Regions from separate parts of the Homo sapiens genome. Here all the other regions are linked to region 3. The links are contacts of gene promoters, found by promoter capture Hi-C in human tissues and cell types (Jung and others, 2019). All regions are on one chromosome and are shown on one strand. Each heading gives the region's core, a stretch centred on a gene start or on the middle of the fragment in contact. The rest is flanking DNA. Distances are from core to core; before and after follow the strand shown.

Region 1 (4,400 bases), core at 1,310-3,809, 180 kb before region 3:
CATGGCGAAACCCTGTCTCTACTAAAAATACAAAAAATTAGCCAGGCGTGGTGGCCTGTAGTCCTAGTTACTCGAGAGGCTGAGGCAGGAGAATTGCTTGAACCCAGGAGACGGAGGTTGCAGTGAGCTGAGATGGCACCACTGTACTCCAGCCTGGGCAACAGAACAAGACTCTGTCTCAAAAAAAAAAAAAAAAAAAATATATATATATATATGTATATATATATATACACACACACATACACAGGCCGGGCGTAGTGGCTTACACCTGTAATCCCTGCACTTTGGGAGGCTGAGGCAGGTGGATCGCCTGAGGTCAGGAGATCGAGACCAGCCTAACCAAAATGATGAAACCCAGTCTCTACTAAAAATACAAAAATTAGCGGAGCGTGGTGGCAGGCACCTGTAATCCCAACTACTCAGGAGGCTGAGGTAGGAGAATCACTTGAACCCAGGAGGCAGAGGTTGCAGTGAGCCAAGATGGCACCACTATACTCCAGCCTGAGCAACAGAGTGAGACTCCGTCCAAACAAACAAAAAAAAAATACAGTTATTCAGTTGTACTAGCCACATTTCAAATGACCACCATATTAGACAGTAGAGATACAGAACATTTCCATCATCACAGGAAGTTCTGGCCAGGCACAGTGGCTCACACCTGTAACCCCAGCACTCTGGGAGGCCGAGGTGGGCTGATCAATGCCTGTAGTCCCAGCTACTCAGGCTGAGGCGGGAAGATCGCTTGAGCCAGGGAAGTCGAGGCTGTAGTGAGCCATGATCATGCCAGTGCACTCCAGCCTGGGCAACAGTAAAGGCCCTGTCTAAAAAAAATAGGGCTGGGCACGGTGGCACACGCCTGTAATCCCAGCACTTTGGGAGGCCGAGGCAGGCACATCACGAGGTCAGGATTTCAAGACCAGCCTGACCAACATGGTGAAACCCCATCTCTACTAAAAAAATACAAAAATTAGCCGGCTGTGGTGGCGCATGCCTGTAATCCCAGCTACTCAGGAGGCTGAGGCAGGAGAATTGCTTAAATCTGGGAAGCGGAGGTTGCAGTGAGCCAAGATCGCGCCACTGCACTCCAGCCTGGGTGACAGAGCAAGACTCCGTCTCAAAAAAAAAAAAAAAAATAGGGCCGGGCATGGTGGCACACGCCTGTAATCCCAGCACTTTGGGAGGCCGTGGCGGGCGGATCATGAAGTCAGGAGATGGAGACCATCCTGGCTACACAGTGAAATCCCGTCTCTACTAAAAATACAAAAAATTAGCTGGGCACAGTGGTGGGCGCCTGTAGTGCCAGCTACTCGGGAGGCTGAGGCAGGAGAATGGCATGAACCCGGGAGGCAGAGGTTGCAGTGAGCCAAGACCACGCCACTGCACTCCAGCCTGGGCGACAGAGCCAGACTCCGTCTCAAAAAAAAAATAGACGGTTTCTCCCTGTCCTCAAGCTCCACCCTTGCACTAGAGGGTGGTTCAAGAATGGAAAGCAGAGAGTGGAGAAGATGAAGTCCTTCTCTTTCTCTTTGCATACATAGAGCAAGCTATACCAGAGAATCAGATAGCAAGCCCTCCCTCAGAGGCCAAGGGAGCAGAAGAGCCATGGATGGGCCCCTTCCCAGGACAGCAGGGGTAGAAGTGGGAAAGGTGAGCATTTGTGACTATTCTATTACTCTGACCTCCCAGGACTGGACCTACAGAGACATCTGGGATTTTCTGCGTCAGCTGTTTGTCCCATACTGTATCCTGTATGACCGAGGGTAAGGGTATTAGGGGAAGGGAATGGGTAAGGGAGTTTTTAGGGTGCTGGGATAGGGAGGGCCAATAGGATCGCCCACCCTACCACATGCTTGCCCTCCACCCTCCCTGCTCCAGATACACATCACTGGGGAGTCGGGAGAATACCGTGCGGAACCCGGCCCTGAAGTGCCTGAGCCCAGGAGGACACCCCACATACCGTCCAGCCTATCTACTGGAGAACGAAGAAGAGGAGCGGAACTCCCGCACATGACCTCCCACCCTAGGAGGGAGGGAAGGACACCGTCCTAGGGTATAACCTGGCAATAAACCGTGCCTCTCACTGTGCCTGTTGCTCTAGCTGTGTCTTCCTGCTCCAGAGGATGGGAGAAGCAGAAGTGGGTCAAATGCTGCCAGCTCTGACTGGCTGTGCTCACTCTAAGGGGCCCAGGGGCAGGGCAGAACAGGCTGGAAAGGAGCTCTCACTGATGGTTCTCAATGTCAGCCTCAGCAGGAGCCCACCAGAGGGCGAAAGCAGGAGTTGTGCCAACCACTGGGAAAAGGGCAATCAGGCAGGGCACCACCTGGGCTGGAAGAGGGGAAGCTGCCTTGGCCTAGCTGTGGAGGATGAAAGATGGAGTGGCCAGGCCCTCCCTCCCACTAACCCCACCCTCCCATCCCTGTCTAGAGGGGCTGACTCAGCCTGTTCCCAGGCCTAGAACCTTCCCTTTGCTAGACCCTGGATCCTTTGTCTCTGTAGTCATGAGGCTGAAGGGGGTGGGGACAGTGTTGATAAAAGGCACTAGAGGCAGCTCCCACACCCTTCCTCGGAACTGTTGCCCACATGCAGCCCCGGACACAGCCCCTAGCCCAAACCCTACCCTTCTTCCTCGGAGGGGCCCCTCGAGACACTGGGCTGCGGGTGCCTGTCATTAAGATGGGCACAGGGTGGGAGGGCTTCCAGCGGACCCTGAAGGAAGTCGCCTACATCCTCCTCTGCTGCTGGTGTATCAAGGAACTGCTGGATTAATGGTAGCAGGGAACTGCCTCCTCTCCCCACCAGCACCATGGCTGGCATCGCTCAGGTGGGCAGGGTAGAGTAAACAGGAGGCATAGCTGCAGCTTCTGTGGCAGAGCTTGCCTTAGCTTCTCATTCTCTTCTTTAGCCCCCAGCCCAATTGCCATCAAGACTCCTGAAGCCAGCTGTGCTTGACCAAGGATGGGCCATAAACAATGAGTAAACAGTAAAGTGTGGATCCTGCTTTGAGCTGTGTCATCTAGCAGACCTGCCTCATCTCTGAGCCTCCTTCATTCCCAACCCCTGCCTCTGGTGGACCTCTGGTGGGCAGGAGCTTGGACTGCTCTGGCTAGGACCCCAGTAAGATTGTGGCAAGACCTGGCACTCCTCCAAGCTTGGCACAGTGAGCCCACCAGCTCAGATGGTTGATCTTACCATACCCTCATAGTACCAAGAATGGACTGCCCCCTAAGAAACCTGTTTGAGAATCACTGAATTATAAATATAATCCATAGGCCTTGAGGCCCAAGATTATAAGTGTCTAAAGGGGAATCAGAAAAAGTCAGCACTAGAACGGTCTGGGAGCAAGGGTGCAGACCAGGGAGGGAAGGAGCTTGTCCTGAATAGAACCAAGATTGAAAGCCAGGTTTTCTGACTCACTGGTTCCTGAGTGGGGAGGGTGGAAGACAGTTCAGGTTCCTCTCAATCTGTGGGTAAGGAGGGGACCCAGCTTGAGTAGGGTCTTCATCTGTGAGGCCAAGGGTGTGTGGAAACCCAGAGGACCCAGCCCTTTCCCAAATAGAAGACCTGGTCCAGGCAGCTTCCTGCCTCTGAGGATCTTGGGGAAAGCACTGCGCTGAGGCTAGTCCCCAGCTCATCAAGGAAGTAGGACCCCATGAGCTACAAGAGCTCCCAGCTCACATACAAAGTTACCAGAGAAAGACACCTGTGTGGCCACACAGGTCCCTCAGGCTTATCATGACACAGCCCTATCAGGACATAAACAGCTAGATTGAGCAGAATTGGCTCTTTACTTCCTCTTGGTAGCCACAGCTGGTATTTTCCATGAGTTACTCCCGGTGGTAGATATACACCAGCCATGTGTATCGTCTTGCTCAGGGGGTGCTTATGCTTACTGATCTGCCCACCCACAGCCCCCCAAACCTCAGAGCCAGCCTGTTTGGGACTGTTCAGTATTTCCCTGGGATTCCCATCCAGCATTCTCTGGCCCCTCCTGGGGGGCCAGTTATCATCCCCCAGCCCTTTGTCACTTGGGGCACTGGCCTGGAGATTATAGATAGTGCCCTCTTCCTCCCTGCCTGGGACCAGCTCTTCCTCAGCCTTCTTCTTAGTTAACTCTTTTTTTTTTCTAGATTCTTTTTGTAAAGGTGATATATGCCCAGAGTAAAGAACTTTAGGCCAGGCCAGGTACAGTGGCTCACACCTGTAATCCCAGCACTTTGGGAGGCAGAGGCGGGCAGATCACCTGAGGTCAGGAGTTCTAGACCAGCCTGGCCAACATGGTGAAACTGCATCTCTACTAAAAATAATTAGCTGGGCGAGGTGGTGAGTGCCTGTAATCCCAGCTACTTGGGAGGCTGAGACAGGAGAATCACTTGAACCCGGGAGGCAGAGTTTGCGGTGA
Region 2 (4,677 bases), core at 523-3,022, 150 kb before region 3:
CAGGTGATGGGGGGAGCCCAGGGCTGGGGAGACCTGGGGCCCAGCCCCAGAAAGTGGGGACAATGTGGCCTCCCTTCTCCCTACTTTCGGCTTTCCCAGTCAGTGCCTTAGGGGGAGAGGCACTCCCCCCCTCCTATTCCCTTCCCCCCACCCCAACTCCCCCACCTCGGGTGTAAGCGACAGGAAGAAATAATAATAATTTAAGATTCACACTTGTGTCCACTTTTGGTTTATTTGGGGGGTGGGTGGGAAGGATCAGGAAGAGAGGGAGGTGAGAGAGGGACTGAGGGTTCTGAAGCTGGAGTGGGGGCTCCTTTAGTGGCGGAGGATGTCTCAGGTGGTCTGTGGGGCTCAGGGCTGGTGAGAATGCTGACAGGCTGATGGGCTTCAGGTAAGGGCTGCTGCCCGTGCTTCCTCTGCTGAGGCCCCTTCTCCTCATCCAGGTCACTAGTGAGGAGAGGAAGGGGGTGGCCGGATCACCCACCTTCTGTCTTCACAGGTGCATCCCTGCCCCCTGCCCTGCCCCATCTGTTCAGATCCAGCTCCTGTTCTTTCTGAGCAACTCCTGCTCTCTCAGGCCCACGAGGCGTACCAGCCCATGGCTGTAGATATTTTCTGATTTTAGGCTGATGCTGGGGGGTGGGCAGTGACTTGCCTGAGGCCACATGGCTAGGAAGGGCAGAATCACTAGTGACCTCAGTAGTCACACCTGCTCAAGGCTCAAGCTGTCCCCTCTGCTGACCCAGCTTATCCTTTCACTGGGCCCTCTAGAACCTCTGAAAAGAAAGCTTTGCTTCCCCTTCAACCTCTTGACTCATCATGACCTCTACCGCCCCATTCACACTGGAATGTGCCCACTGGACAGTTTTCTTTGCAGTCCTCCCAAGAGGAGGCAGCTTAACCTTCTCAAACCCAGCTGGCCCGTAGTGTTTTTTTGCAAAGCCCCTGGCTGCCATGATAGCTGTACCACCAGTGCTGTGGCTGTCTCCTCAGGCCTGCCAGACACCTGCCACATCTGTTTAAGATGCCGGCTCTGGACTCCTGCTGTTTGTATGGTCCTGCAACCTCGTCGCTAGAGGACCCACCCAATTCTCTGGCCTCTCAATCCCTAACCTCCTTGGTTCTATTGACCGTCATCTCTGTTCCCACTCAGACGTCTTCCTCAGCCTTGGCCTTTCACTGGATTCATTCCAGAGTTCTTCCCTGGCCATGGCCCCCTCTCTGAGTCCCTCCTGTTCAGCCAGCTCTCCCTCCTGGCCACTGCCCCTGCTCTAACACGTCATCAAGACAGAGACCCTGGGCTGCCCCCAGGGGCCTTAGCCCCTCCTCTTCCCCAGTCATCTCAGACACTCTTACCAAAGACACCTCAATTCTCACTCCATCTTGTCCTCCTGACCTGCCCAGAAAAAGCCCTCCACCTGTGAATCCTATTCATGGCTACCACATTTGCCAGAGAAAATCACATAACTGAGCGCACTGGAGCAATCATTACAAGTTACAGCTTCCAGCATCATCTGGGCCTTTGACGCTACCTGGAAATCCCTTAACCTCCCTAGTCGGCTTCTTTGCACACTTGCCACGGCAGGTCTTTCAACCTCTACCACCCACTCCTTGAAACCTTTATTCCACTCCCAGCTGCCTGCTCTGCTCTCTCAGCAGGTGCTCTTGCCTCCTACTCCCCAAAGAGAAGCGAGGCCACCAGGCTGGAGTGGGCTCAGCTGCTCAGGGGAACCTATACTCTCCCCCTCTGCCTCTGCCAGCCTGCTCCTTTCTCAGGCAGGCCACCTGGTCCACCTGGCCCTGGAGCCCAAACCTCCCTCCCCAACGTGCTTTTACACTGCCTAAATGCTCAAATCTTCCTGTTCTTAGATCTAGAAAACCCTTTTAGTGCTGAATCCCCTTCAAGCTACTTTCTTGCTCTGTGAAGCTAACTCTCTCTTTCTCTTCACCATCAAGCTTACATTTTTTTCAAACTACAGCACTCATTAGATTAAAAGCATTATCAAACTCCTGGCAACAGTGATGCAGGAGCCACATACCATATTTCTGAGTCCTTTTATTATTTATTTATTTTGAGACAGAGTCTTGCTCTGTCGCCCAGGCTGGAGTGCAGTGGCACGATCTCGGCTCACTGCAACTTCCGCCTCCCGCGTTCAAGTGATTCTTCTGCCTCAGCCTCCCAAGTAGCTGGGATTACAGGCGCCTGCCACCATGCCTAATTTTTTGTATTTTTAGTAGAGACAAGGTTTTACCATGTTGGCCAGGCTGGTTTCAAACTCCTGACCTCAAGTGATCTGCCCGCCTCAGCCTCCCAAAGTGCTAGGATTACAGGCGTGAGCCACCACACCCAGCCTTTCTGAGTCTTCTTTACCTGACACCCCTCAACCCATCATGACAGATCCAGTTTTGGTCTTCCCGATGCCATGAAAAATATTCCCACAAGCTACTCCAGTGATGTCTTAACTGCCTGTCACCTGTCTTCACATGATCCTACTTGATTTTTTTTTTTTTAATCTTCTAATTTTTTGAGACTGGGTCTTGTACTATTGCCCAGGCTGGAGTGCAGTGGTGCAATCTTGGCTCACCGCAGTCTCAGCCTCCCTGGCTCAAGTGATCCCTCCCACCTTAGCCTCCTGAAAGCTGGGACTAAAGATGCACGCCACCATGCCCAGCTAATTTTTGTATTATTACCTATTTATTTATTGAGACCAATCCTCCCTCTGTCACCCAGGCTAAAATGCGGTGGCACAATCTTAGCTCCCTGCAACCTCCACCTCCCAGGTTCAATCAATTCTCCTGCCTTAGCCTCCTGAGTAGCTGGGACTAACAGGTGCGTGCCACCACTCCTGGCTAATTTTTGTATTTTTAGTAGAGATGGGGTTTCACTATGTTAGCCAGGCTGGTCTCGAACTCCTGACCTTAAGTGGTCCTCCCGCCTCAGCCTCCCAAAGTGCTGGGATTACAGGCGTGAGCCACCATGCCCTGGCAAGTTTTTGTATTTTTAGTAGAGATGGAGTTTTGCCATGTTGCCCAGGCTGGTCTCGAACTCCTGGACTCAAGTGATCGGCCCACCTCGGCCTCCCAAATTGCTGAAATTACAGGTGTGAGCCACTGTGCCCATCCCCCTACTTGATTTCATATGTTTGGCTCTCCTGCTTTCTTGAGCCTCTCCCCTCCCTGTCCCCTCCCACTCTCCTGCCATGCCCTCTGCCAGGATGATCTAGCTCATCCTCTCTCTTACAGTCTCTAACTTAACCCCCCAAAAATATACCTCCAGCCCGGATCCCTGCCCTTTTCTAACTGCCCCCCTGGGCATCTCCAGCTGGATGCCCTACAGACACCTCAAAGATCTCAAACTGGGCCAGTCGTCTTTCCCCAGAACCTGTTTATCTTCCTGCCCTAACACCTGCCCAGGCCCAAGCATAGAAATCCCAGTCACGCTCAGCACTTCAGTACTGAGGCCATCACGAACTTCTCCTAGACTAAGACAAGCTTCTCTCTGACCTCCCTGCTCCTGCCCAACCTCCACTCTGCCTTCTTTGCTTATGGTCTTTTTTTTTTTTTTGGAGACTGAGTCTCACTCTATCATCCAGGCTGGGCTGGAGTGCAGTGGTGTGATCTTGGCTCACTGCAATCTCTGCCTCCTGGGTTCAAGCAATTCTCCTGCCTCAGCCTCCCGAGTAGCTGGGACTACAGGCATGCACCACCAAACCCGGCTAATTTTTGTATTTTTAGTAGAGATGGGGTTTCGCCATGTTGGCCAGGCTGGTCTCGAACTCCTGACCTCAGGTGATCCACCCACCTCGGCCTCCCAAAGTTCTAGGATTACAGGCATGAGCCACCGTGCCCGGCCCGCTTATGGTCTTAAAAGACAAATATGAGCATATCACTTTCCAACCTAAGCTTTTCAAATGACAAGTTAAGGTTCTTGCCCATCTCTTCCCACCTTGACTTCCAACCTCATCTCCCAGCATTCTCTGAGGTCTCTACCCAGCCACACCCATCCCTTGGGCTCTACCCTTCTGAATGCCTCACATTCTCCAAACCCACACAGGCCTCCCCTTGGAATGCTTTCCTCTACTTCTCAGCCTAACAAACCACCAAGTTGCCCCCAAAATCCAGCCCGTGGCCAGGCACCATGGCTCACACCTATAATCCCATAATCCCAGCACTTTGGAAGGCCAAGGCGAGAGGATGGTTTGAGCTCAGGAGTTTGAGACCAGCCTGGGCAACATAGTGAGACCCCCGTCTCTACAAAATAATAATAATAACAAAATAATAATAATAAGGCAGGTGTGATGGTGTTCCTGACATCCCAGCTACCCAGGAGACTGAGGTGGGAGGATCACTTGAGCCCAGGAGGTCGAGGTTGCAGTGAACTGGGATTGCACCACTGCATTCCAGCCTGGGTGACAGAGTGAGACCCTGTTTCAAACAAAACAAAACAAAACAAAAATCCAGCTCATGTATCACCTCTTCTATGAAGCCTTCATTAATATGCCCCTTTTCCCAAATTGGCTGTTGTGTCCTCTGTGCTGTCCAGAGTGTACTTCACTCCTTTATCAGGGTGCTGTCCACCCTGTTATCTATTCGATGTCACTCTCCCCAAGGGCATGGTGAGCTCCTCCTGGGCCACGGTGCTGACACAGAGCAGCCGCTTGGCAAACCTCAGTTACT
Region 3 (4,277 bases), core at 891-3,390:
ATCCCAGCACTCTGGGAGGCCAAGACGGGTGGATCACTTAAGGTCAGGAGTTCAAGACCAGCCTAACCAACATGGTGAAATCCTATCTCTACCAAAAATACAAAAATTAGCCAGTTATGGTGGCGCACGCATGTAATCCCAGCTACTCGGGAGGCTGAGGCAGGAGAATCGCTTGAACCTGGGAGGCAGAGGCTCCAGTGAGCTGGGTTCACACCACTGTACTCCAGCATGGGTGACAGAGCGAGACTCCATCTCAAAAAAAAAAAAAAAAAGAAGCAAGTGAAGGTAATACATATGGAAACAAAACCTAACAGAGAGAAGTCCCGGGGCTACTGGATGGAAAGAACTCTGAAGCCTGCAAAAGGGCTATGCGGAGAAAGCAAGTCCTAGAGGGGGGCAAAGAAATGAGGGCAGCCAGGCACAGTGGCTCACACCTGTAATTCCAGCACTCTGGGAGGCTGAAATAGGAGGATCACTTGAGCCCAGGAGTTCGAGACCAGCCTGGGCAATGTGGTGAAACCCCATCTCTACAAAAACTTAAAACAGTAGCTGGGTGTGGTGGCACTCACTGGTAGTCCCAGCTACTGGTAAGACTGAGGAGGGAAGATTGCTTGAGACCAGGTCAAGGCTTCAGTGATCACATCCCTGCACTCCAGCCTAGGCGACAGAGTAAAGCCTTGTCTCAAAAAAAAAAAAAAAAAAAAAAGAGAAAAGATTAAGGGCAACCATGATAGATCTTTGTTTTACCACATGAGGGTTTTACATGAGATTGCATCTGCTGTGAATTTCTGAGCACGTGGCATTCCTTAAGTAATCTGGCCTTGACACTTAATTTGCTTTATAAACTTAATTCTCCATAAATAACTGAATCATCAATTCTTGATTACATGAGCAATTGAACAAGAATTATTCCAAACAGGAAATAATCTAACAGTTATTCTGATTTGGTCAGGATTCCTGCTGCCATAGATATTTGGTGCCTCTAGTATTTAGGCTCTTCACAATTCCCTCAAATAAGTAGAATTCTCTAATATTGAGTTAACTTCACATCAGAACTCCATAGTGAACTTGGTCCTGCTGCTTCTTCTGGTGGGAACAAGGACCGCCTCCCAGCGAATAGATGCAAAACATCAGCCCAAATTTGCCTGTTCCCCTCAAACCTTCCCTGGGAGCTGGCCAGAAGGTACCAAAGTTTCTTGCTTTCAAAGGCCTTCTCTTCCAGCTCCAACTCCAGGAGCTATACAAGGTGCAGAATCGAAAAGCGTCATCTGTCTTCAGACAGCTTCAGTAAATATATTTCTCCTTAACAACCTTTCACCTAAGCATCTGGAAATTCAATATCATGTTTCAGGAGGTTAAAGAGGAGAAAGTTCAAATACTCAAGCTCCAATATTCACTTACTCTCAGGGAAGATCTTTGCTTGGAATCCTTTGCCAAAGACAAGATTCTCCAGATTATTGAAGGCCTGGTTGAGGGAGTTAAGGAGTAGGGTGTGCAACGGGGACAGAGCTGTGTGGGGAAGGGGAAGGGCACATGCCTACGTGGCCCGCCCCCTCCAACTGCAGGGAGGATACAGTGAGCGAGAACACGAAGAGACCCGAACCAAGCAGGCCGCCCTGGATGGTGAGCCACTCGGTGGAGGCCAGCTGACGGCTGTACATCTGCATCCCAGCAAAGAGCAGCAGGGACAGGAGGGAGGAGAGCGCCAGCGAGGTGCCCGTACCCACCACTGGAGGGGATGGGAGAAGGGACGGAGAGTCAGGCTCCGCCCTCCCTCCGGCAAGCTACGGGCAGATCAGCCGGTCCGGAAGCTCGGTGGGCCGACCCCCTCCAAGAACTCCCGGGACTGCAGCCACACGCCCCAACTCCCCACACCGCGCGGCAACCCCTACGTATTCCCCAGCCCCGGACACCCCGAACCCTCCCGTCCGGTGGAAATGCCCGCTCCCGGTGGAACCCAGGACACGTCAGCTCTGTCGGGAGAGGACGAGGAAAGCTTGTCCACCCAAACCCCGACCCCCTCTAGGACTTCCTGGGGACCCCACCGGTCCTGTTACCCATCATGCCCCGCCCGTGAGTCCAACCGGCGCCTCTGGCCAAGAAAGGCGAGCTGAACCGGGTGCGGTTAGCTATGCGCATGCGTCAGCGCTTACCGCGGACTTGCTACTCCTCGCGTTCTCCTCTTTCTTCCTCTCAGTGCCTGGACGCAGCGCCCTCTTGCGACAGGGAGGAAATAATGCGTCGAGGGGGCATCCTCGGCCACCGCCCTGGTCCTCAGGCTTTCCTCGTACCTGGTGCGTCTGCTGCCACTCTGTACAAGGTGCACTTATCTCTTTAAGTCATTGGGCCCATGCCTGTGGCATCTATCCCATCTCTGTCTTCTTTGCCATTTCTTTCATCTCTAGTGCACGTTCCTCAAACCTCCCTGCCCCATGCCTCAACATCTCCCAACCTAAAATTTAGTGCTCCCAACCAGGAACTCATTTTCCTCCGAAACTAATCCCCCGCTTTATATGAGTAAAATTAGGAGCCAATGAAAAATGAGAATGTAAGAAATGGCTCCCCCGTCAAATACCTTTCCATATTCCCCAACCCCCCGACCGGCTTTCGAGAACCACGTGGGGAGAACTATTTCCCACCCCCTACCCCGACGGGCGCTGTTCGAGGCTGGTCCCGGGAGCATGCGCAGTGACACCTCAACCCCCAGCCCTCCTCACACCCCCACTGGGCTCCTGCATTAAGCCCGGGGTTCGCAGCCGCAGCCGGGATCGGGCACCCAGGGGCGGGCGGGCACGGTAGGGCCATGGCAGAGGGTGAGGATATGCAGACCTTCACTTCCATCATGGACGCACTGGTCCGCATCAGTGTGAGTTAAGGTGGGGTCGAGGGAAGGGGAGGGGGCGTATAGGGTTCTGGGGCAAGCTGGGACCTGGAACAGGTGGGGATCCAGGAAGATGCTGGGATGTAGACAGGGGGCTAGCGATGGCAGAAACGGCTGGGAGGGTCGGGATGCAGGTATGAGAGGGTAATCCCGGGAGCAGCCCGGAGGTGAGTGCCGTGAAGGCGTCGGTGTGCTGGAGCGTGAGGAGGAGCTAGGAGCAGCCCAGACGCAGCGGGTGGGCTGGGGTGGCCTCCAGCAGTGCACCGGGGCTGGGGCTTCAGGGGAAAGGCCCTGTTATGAGAAGAGGGACGTGTGAGCTTGGATATTTTCCAAGAAAACTGAGGACAGGTGGGGGATGATGTAGGAGCCGCCCCACAGTGCAGTTCCCAATTTGGACCCCTCCCCAAGACCCCACCCCACGCACCCCCACTCAGGGCTGCTTCCGAGCCTGCGGTTGTCATGGCAACCCGTGCCTGGCTCTCCCAGGGGCGGTGCCAACCGTGTTCCCCCCCACCACTTCCTCCCCCCCTCCTTGTTCCTCCCTCCTTTGTGTCAGCTGCGCCCCTGACCGGGATGGCTGCGAAGAGAGGGACCAAGGTGAGGTGTGGGGGTGGGGCATAGCCTGAGGACCCCCACTCTCGCCACCAAGAGGGGGAGGGGACTTCCGGTGGGGAGGGGGCGAGTAGGCGGGGCTCTTGATTCCCCCGCTAGTTCGGAGAAGGGGGTGCCGCTGACCGGGTTGCGCTGCGGGAGAGGGCGGGAGGGCCTGATGGGGGCGAAGGGGAATGGGTTGGTAAGACCGATGGGGAAGTGAAGGATGGGGAATGGAGGCTGGAGTGGCCGCAGGCCGGAGCTGCGGCAGGAGGACGTATGGAGCGAGCAGGATGGAGTGCCAACCTCGCCTGGCTATCGGGAGGAATCACGGCATGGGGGTGCTGCTAGAGAAGGGAGTGGGGGTCTGCATGGAGCTGCAGAATGGGCGGTGTCCTTGAGAAAAATGCCAGGGGCAAGCTGCCCAGAGATGGGGGATGGAGGCAGGTGAGGGGGCTGCCAGCTGGGGCTACTGCAGCTGGAGAAATGGGGATTGGGCTTGAGGCTGGAGCAGGCACAAGCTCCAACCGTCCCTCCTCTGGGCCTTTAGCTCTGCAGCGGGGAAAGAGAAGCAAGGGACAGAGGTCTGGGAAGGTCTGTGAACCAGCCCAAGGCAGGTGCTCTGGAAAAGCTGCAGGTAGCTTGTCTTGCTCCTTCCTCAGACCCCTAGGGTATCCAAGGGCAGCCAAGGGGCTGCTGAGGTATGCCTAAGTGTCCAAGCGCTGACCTAGCCTCCTGGTCCCTCCACAGACCAGCATGAAGAACATGGAGAAGGAACTGCTGTGCCCAGTGTGTCAAGAGATGT

Evidence for each region. The method cuts DNA at HindIII sites, captures the fragments that hold promoters and counts their contacts. A contact is called where the count stands out against the background at its distance.
Region 1: the fragment with the promoter of LENEP here is called in contact with the fragment with the promoter of KRTCAP2 in region 3 in 1 of the 25 tissues and cell types used here (adrenal gland).
Region 2: a fragment that was not itself captured here is called in contact with the fragment with the promoter of KRTCAP2 in region 3 in 2 of the 25 tissues and cell types used here (H1 embryonic stem cells and dorsolateral prefrontal cortex).

What each region holds. Positions count from the first base shown.
Region 1 is chr1:154,991,027-154,995,426 of GRCh38, forward strand. LENEP (lens epithelial protein) reads left to right here and starts at 2,560. Exons shown (of 1, transcript NM_001394530.1): 1 at 2,560-3,289. The coding sequence starts at 2,582. The coding sequence ends at 2,767. FLAD1 (flavin adenine dinucleotide synthetase 1) reads left to right here. Exons shown (of 7, transcript NM_025207.5): 6 at 1,687-1,760; 7 at 1,876-2,085. The coding sequence ends at 2,011. The HindIII fragment of the contact is 8,242 bases long and covers 1-4,077 here.
Region 2 is chr1:155,018,314-155,022,990 of GRCh38, forward strand. DCST2 (DC-STAMP domain containing 2) reads right to left here. Exons shown (of 15, transcript NM_144622.3): 15 at 214-447. The coding sequence ends at 231. It overlaps ZBTB7B (zinc finger and BTB domain containing 7B), which reads left to right. Exons shown (of 3, transcript NM_001256455.2): 3 at 1-210. Among named protein-coding and RNA genes, the nearest start is that of DCST2, 13 kb to the right of the region's middle. The HindIII fragment of the contact is 3,850 bases long and covers 1-3,697 here.
Region 3 is chr1:155,171,164-155,175,440 of GRCh38, forward strand. KRTCAP2 (keratinocyte associated protein 2) reads right to left here and starts at 2,141. Exons shown (of 5, transcript NM_173852.4): 1 at 2,058-2,141; 2 at 1,575-1,729; 3 at 1,402-1,465. The coding sequence starts at 2,061. TRIM46 (tripartite motif containing 46) reads left to right here and starts at 2,686. Exons shown (of 10, transcript NM_025058.5): 1 at 2,686-2,866; 2 at 4,223-4,277. The coding sequence starts at 2,804. RefSeq lists enhancers at 1,521-1,800, 1,904-2,412, 1,991-2,090, 2,291-2,340, 2,413-2,921 and silencers at 2,671-2,760, 2,930-3,224. The HindIII fragment of the contact is 7,811 bases long and covers 1-4,277 here.